Linked DNA regions of Homo sapiens: region 1 is linked to region 2. The links are contacts of gene promoters, found by promoter capture Hi-C in blood cells and fetal thymus (Javierre and others, 2016). All regions are on one chromosome and are shown on one strand. Each heading gives the region's core, a stretch centred on a gene start or on the middle of the fragment in contact. The rest is flanking DNA. Distances are from core to core; before and after follow the strand shown. Region 1 overlaps PRUNE1 (prune exopolyphosphatase 1). Region 2 holds the start of LYSMD1 (LysM domain containing 1).

Region 1 (2,839 bases), core at 287-2,786, 140 kb before region 2:
AGGCTGGTCTCAAACTCCTGGCCTCAAGCAGTTCTCCTTTTGGCCTCCGAAGTTCTGGGATTATAGGCGTGAGCCACTGTGCCCGGCCTCATTGTATTTTTAATAAAATCTAAAGGACTTACTGTGGTTTACAGCGCCATGCTTGATCTGGCCCTTGTCTTTTTCTCTGGCCTCATCTCATTCCAGCTCCACTCCTGTTCTACAGTACTGCAGCCACACTGGTTTCTTTTCTGTTCCTCAGAACCATTAAGCTCATTCCCAGCTGAGCTTTTTTCTTTGTAAAGCTGGCTCCTTCTTAACATTCAGGTACTCAGCTCAGATGTCTCTTGTTTTGGGAGGTTTTTCCTGACCACCCTAACTGAAGTACTATCTCCTATGCTCAAAAAACCTCTAGCAGTTATGTATGTATGTTTGTTTGTTTGTTTGTTTTGAGCCTGAGTCTTATTCTGTTGCCCAGGATGGAGTGGAATGGCATGATCTCAGCTCACTGCAACCTCTGCCTCCCGGGTTCAAGTAATTCTCCTGCCTCAGCCTCCCTAGTAGCTGGGATTACTGGTGCGTGCCGGCATGCCCAGCTAATTTTTTGTTTTGTTTTGTTTTGTTTTTGTTTTTTGAGACGGAGTTTCGCTCTTGTCCCCCAGGCTGGAGTGCAATGGCGCAATCTCAGCTCACTGCAACTTCCGCCTCCCTGGTTCAAGCGATTCTCCTGCCTCAGCCTCCTGAGTAGCTGGGATTACAGGCATATGCCCCCATGCCCGGCTAATTTTTGTATTTTTACCAGAGACAGGGTTTCACCATGTTGGCTAGGCTGGTCTCGAACTCCTGACCTCAAGTGATCACCTGCCTCGGCCTCCCAAAGTGCTAGGATTATAGGCGTAAGCGACCGTGCCCGGCCCAAGGATGTTTTATTGATGATGATGAGAAAGTCCTTCATCCCTCTCCGTTTCTTCCCTTTCAGGCCTTTCTGCAGAGGTCTAACCTCCTTGCAGATCTCCATGCTTTCTGCCAGGCTCACAGCTATGATGTCCTGGTTGCCATGACTATCTTTTTCAACACTCACAATGAGCCAGTGCGGCAGTTGGCTATTTTCTGTCCCCATGTGGCACTCCAAACAACGGTGAGTCTGTGTCCCTTCTCCAACCTAAGAGCCTTACAGAGTCTGCCTGTATGTACCTCTGTGCTCTACAGCTGTCCTATAAGGACCTCTCTTAGGTTCTTATATTAATGTACTTACATGAGGTCCCTTGACCTGTTTCTGGACCTGTTTCCTCCCCTTTCTGCTTTTTCCCATTCTCTCTCTATATGAATATCCTTTTTTTTTTTTTAATGAACATCCTTAATCATAGCATTGTTGAGAAAGGGGGAATTCCAAAGAGAACTAGAGATTCAATTCCTACTTTGAAAGAACGAAATCTAGTTAGAAGGAAATGTTATAAATCCGGAGTTAAAATTCCCTTCTTGAGCTAGGGACAGTGGCACGTGCCTGTAGTCCCAGCAACTCGGGAGGCTGATGCAGAAGGATTGCTTAAGCTGGAAAGTTTTTTTTTTTTTTTTTTTTTTGAGACAGTCTTGTGCTGTTGCCCAGGCTGGGGTGCAGTGGCACAATCTCGGCTCACTGCAAGCTCTGCCTCCTGGGTTAACGCCATTGTCCTGCCTCAGCCTCCCGAGTAGCTGGGACTACAGGCGCCCGCCACCACGCCCGGCTAATTTTTTGTATTTTTAGTAGAGACGGGGTTTCACCGTGTTAGCCAGGATAGTCTCGATCTCCTGACCTCGTGATCCGCCCGCCTTGGCCTCCCAAAGTGCTGGGATTACAGGCGTGAGCCACCGCGCCCAGCCGAGCTGGAAAGTTTGAGTCCAGCCTGGGCAAAGATAGCAAGACCTCATCTCTGTTGGGGAAAAAAAAAAACAAAAACTCTATTCTTGGTTTAATCATTAATTCCTCACCCCTGGAATTATGCTGTTGCCTTGAAAATTAGAAATACGAGAGACCTTTTCTGCTACTTACTATGCAGGGATTAATTATTCTGTATAGTGCAAACTCTGTAAAGAAGTGATCTAGATCCAGATTTGGCTATCTTTCCTACTTCCTCCCCCTTCTGTTCCTCTGCTGGTTACTGATTAGCCTAGGGAAGAATTTAAAAGTGGGCTTAAGGCTGGGTGCGGTGGCTCACACCTGTAATCCCAGCACTTTGGGAAGCTGAGGCGGGCAGATCACGAGAGCAAGAGATCAAGACCATCCTGGCCAACATGGTGAAACCCCATCTCTTTTAAAAATACGGAAATTAGCTGGGCGTGGTGGTGCGTGCCTATAGTCCCAGCTACTCAGGAGGCTGAGGCAGGAGAATCTCTTGAACCTCGGCAAGCAGAGGTTGCAGTGAGCCGAGATTGCGCCACTGTACTCCATCCTGCCAACAGAGCAAGACTCCGTCTCCAAAAAAAAAAAAAAAAAAGGTGGGCTTAAGGCAGTTCAGGGATTCTGAGGGTTGCCTAGGCTCTGTGAGGACTGCTAAAGACAGAATACAGCCAGATAATCCTTTGCTCTCATAGAAGGTATGTCTGTCCTTTCCCGCCCCCCTTTGCCTTTGCCTTCTCCCCAGGAAGCAAATCTGATTTCATTCAGTGTAAGGTAGTTCGTCATTATGAAAAGAACTGCAGTTTTGTCTGTTTGTTTGTTTTTTAAGATGGAGTCTCACTCTGTCGCCCAGGCTTGAGTACAGTGGTGTGATCTTGGCTCACTGCAACCGCCACCTCCCAGGTTCAGTCAGTTCTCCCACCTCAGCCTGTAGCTGGGACTACAGGCGCCTGCCACCATGCCTGACTAATTTTTGTATTTTTA
Region 2 (2,708 bases), core at 207-2,706:
TCAACTTCAATGCTGTACATTTTTACATCTATCCAATTTCCCCCATGCATGACCTGAAATACTTGGTGTAGAGTACCTGTTTTGCACAAAGGAGGCCACCTTACTGGAAAGAAGGCAGAGCATTGAGGAGGAACCAAGAGCAAGGAGAGGTGGGCACTTTAGGAACTGAGAACTAAAAATCAGCTCTCCATTAGTTGCTGTAAACGTTTAATCACTCTCAACATAAAATTTTCTGTGTGGTTAATAGAGTCAGACAGACCTGTTTGAATCCCAAATCTGACGCTCATTATTTGACCTTAGCCAAACTGGTTAACCAATCCAAGTCTCAGTTTCTTCATCTGCCAAAAGGGAACGATAAATGTATACTTGATACAGATGTGAGGGTGAAATGAGCTAACGTATGTGAAGCCCTCAGCACAGTGTCTGGCATAATAAAATAGGAGCTGTTCCTCTCCGTTGGAATAGTAGGGCAGGACTTGTGCAACACTGTGATGGGAAAACAAAGATAAAGGCAGAACAGAGTGCAACACATTAGGAACATTTCAGGGGAGGTTACCTAGAAGGGCCACTACATTCTTCTCAGGACTAAATCCCTCCTGACTGTTGTCTTCACCCCAATCCTGGAAAACTCACCGTCACCCCATATTTGAGTGCTAGTCCAGCCAGGGTGTCTCCGGGCTCCAACTGATGCTCCAGGCGTCTTTCCCTCACTGGGGAGCAGGCCGATTGCACCAGGCTTCCATATGAACGAGCCCGGCTCCCTTGAAGCAGTCCTGACCCCCCTGGCGGGGGCTGTCTAGACGGGGAAGCCATCTCTTCACCCTGCCAACAGCTAAGGTTGCAACTAGGGGAGGTACGACCGAGACTGCGACTGACAGGCCTGAAGTCTGGGAATGAATATTCAGGGGATTCCTTTCCCCCTCTCTCTTCCCCTGTGTCCCCGCCTCCCCAGCACTACGCCATCTGCCCCCTCCCGGTTTCTCCTCCCTCCAAGCTACTTATCCACAAATCTGTCCCTTGAGTATTCAGTCCCTCCCTAATTCTCCCCTAAGCACCCCTCCGACTTTGGACTCCCCCACAACTCCTCGCTACATTGACCTCTGACCTTTGAACTCTAGAAATAATCCTCAACACTCTTTCCTCAGTTTGCCCCCAAGTAGCCTGGCCTCAGGGCGCTCCAACATCCCAGCTCTCCCCGGTCCCGGGGTTTGTTTGCTAGAGTCAGGAACAAATCAGGCCCACCCCAGGTGAACTGTCGCCGCAGACGAAGAGCGTGAGGATTGCAAGAATTTGTAGTACACCTTCCACTCAGAGATCCTCAAAGGTCCGCTCCGCATAAGATAGGTCACACCCTCAAATTTCGGCTCCACATCTAGGTTGTTGTCCCTCCAAACGCCTCAGATCCGCCAAGATGCAAGGGCCTGGATCCAGTTGAGCGGCAAGGTCTTTGAGAAAAGACTTCATTTCCCAAAAGGCTCCGCGTCTGCGGAGTCGCAGGGCACCATAGGAAATGCAGTTCCCTCCGAGCACCAGAGAGTGGATTTCCGGATCGCGCAATGCATGCGTGGAAGTGCGTCCCCGGAAGTACGGAGGCCGACAGGAAGAGAAGGAAAAAAGAGAAGGCGCTGTCCCGCTCTTGCTACGGTGGCCTGGAGGAGTGGCGAAACCGGAACAGAGAATTTATCACTTCTGGGACTCACAGTCGTGATGTCTTTCAAGAGGGAAGGAGACGATTGGAGTCAACTCAATGTGCTCAAAGTAAGCGTGAGCGGAGAGGATCTGGAGCCGCTTCAGTCGCTCCCTGAAGGTTGGGAAGGAGCTTTGTTTCATTGCTCTGGCAACAACTCGGGGGTGCAGGAGAGAACCAGGCGACTTAGAGCTGTGTAGTGACTCCTTTTTCGGTCTATGATCGCTGTTCTCCCCAGGGTCCTTATTCCATTTCACTCCTCATTTCTATAATTTCACTTCCACCCCTCTCTCCTATCCCGCTGATCCCGTCCGGATTTCTTCCCCTACTCCCTGCAGAAAAGAAGAGTCGGGGACCTCCTAGCCAGTTACATTCCAGAGGATGAGGCGCTGATGCTTCGGGATGGACGGTAAGAGCAAGGAGTGGCTCAAGCCTGAGGGTTCTGCGGTTAGAGGCTCAATAGACTTTTTTTTTTTTTTCCTTTGAGACGGAGGTCTCGCGGTGCTGCCCAGGCTGCCCTCGAACTCTAGGGCTCAAGTGATCCTGCCTCCTCAGCGTCGCGATTAGCTGGGTTTACAAGCGCATGCCACCACGCCTGGCTTCAACAAACTTTTGTTATTAATTAGGACAGCAGGAGTACCTAGGATTCTTTGGCGGCCAGTGAGGACTGGAAGAAGTGGAGATTGGGTCACCAGGGAGTTGGGTTTTGCAAAGACTGCTAGGACAGGGTGGGACCTATGGCAGGGACGGGCCCAACCCTCTTCCCCTGGACCACTTATCCTCTTCTCTACCCCTGCTCAGCTTTGCTTGTGCCATCTGCCCCCATCGACCGGTACTGGACACCCTGGCCATGCTGACTGCCCACCGTGCAGGCAAGAAACATCTGTCCAGTAAGTTAGGGGGAAGACGGGATGGGGAATAAACCCTCGAAATCTCTGCACACCACTCTTGGTGCTATGCTTTTAATTCTGTTTCCCTTTCTCCTCAGGCTTGCAGCTTTTCTATGGCAAGAAGCAGCCGG

What was found. The method cuts DNA at HindIII sites, captures the fragments that hold promoters and counts their contacts. A CHiCAGO score of 5 or more calls a contact.
Region 1: a fragment that was not itself captured here is called in contact with the fragment with the promoter of LYSMD1 in region 2 in 1 of 17 cell types (naive CD4 T cells); the score reaches 5.9 in naive CD4 T cells.

What each region holds. Positions count from the first base shown.
Region 1 is chr1:151,027,828-151,030,666 of GRCh38, forward strand. PRUNE1 (prune exopolyphosphatase 1) reads left to right here. Exons shown (of 8, transcript NM_021222.3): 7 at 959-1,117. Among named protein-coding and RNA genes, the nearest start is that of BNIPL, 7.3 kb to the right of the region's middle. The HindIII fragment of the contact is 8,691 bases long and covers 1-2,839 here.
Region 2 is chr1:151,164,446-151,167,153 of GRCh38, forward strand. It overlaps LYSMD1 (LysM domain containing 1), which reads right to left and starts at 1,457. Exons shown (of 3, transcript NM_212551.5): 1 at 634-1,457. The coding sequence starts at 813. TNFAIP8L2-SCNM1 (TNFAIP8L2-SCNM1 readthrough) reads left to right here. Exons shown (of 7, transcript NR_144937.2): 2 at 2,026-2,096; 3 at 2,489-2,577; 4 at 2,676-2,708. SCNM1 (sodium channel modifier 1) reads left to right here and starts at 1,699. Exons shown (of 7, transcript NM_024041.4): 1 at 1,699-1,758; 2 at 2,026-2,096; 3 at 2,489-2,577; 4 at 2,676-2,708. The coding sequence starts at 1,708. RefSeq lists enhancers at 939-1,644, 1,398-1,677, 1,645-2,351, 1,698-1,747. The HindIII fragment of the contact is 8,952 bases long and covers 1-2,708 here.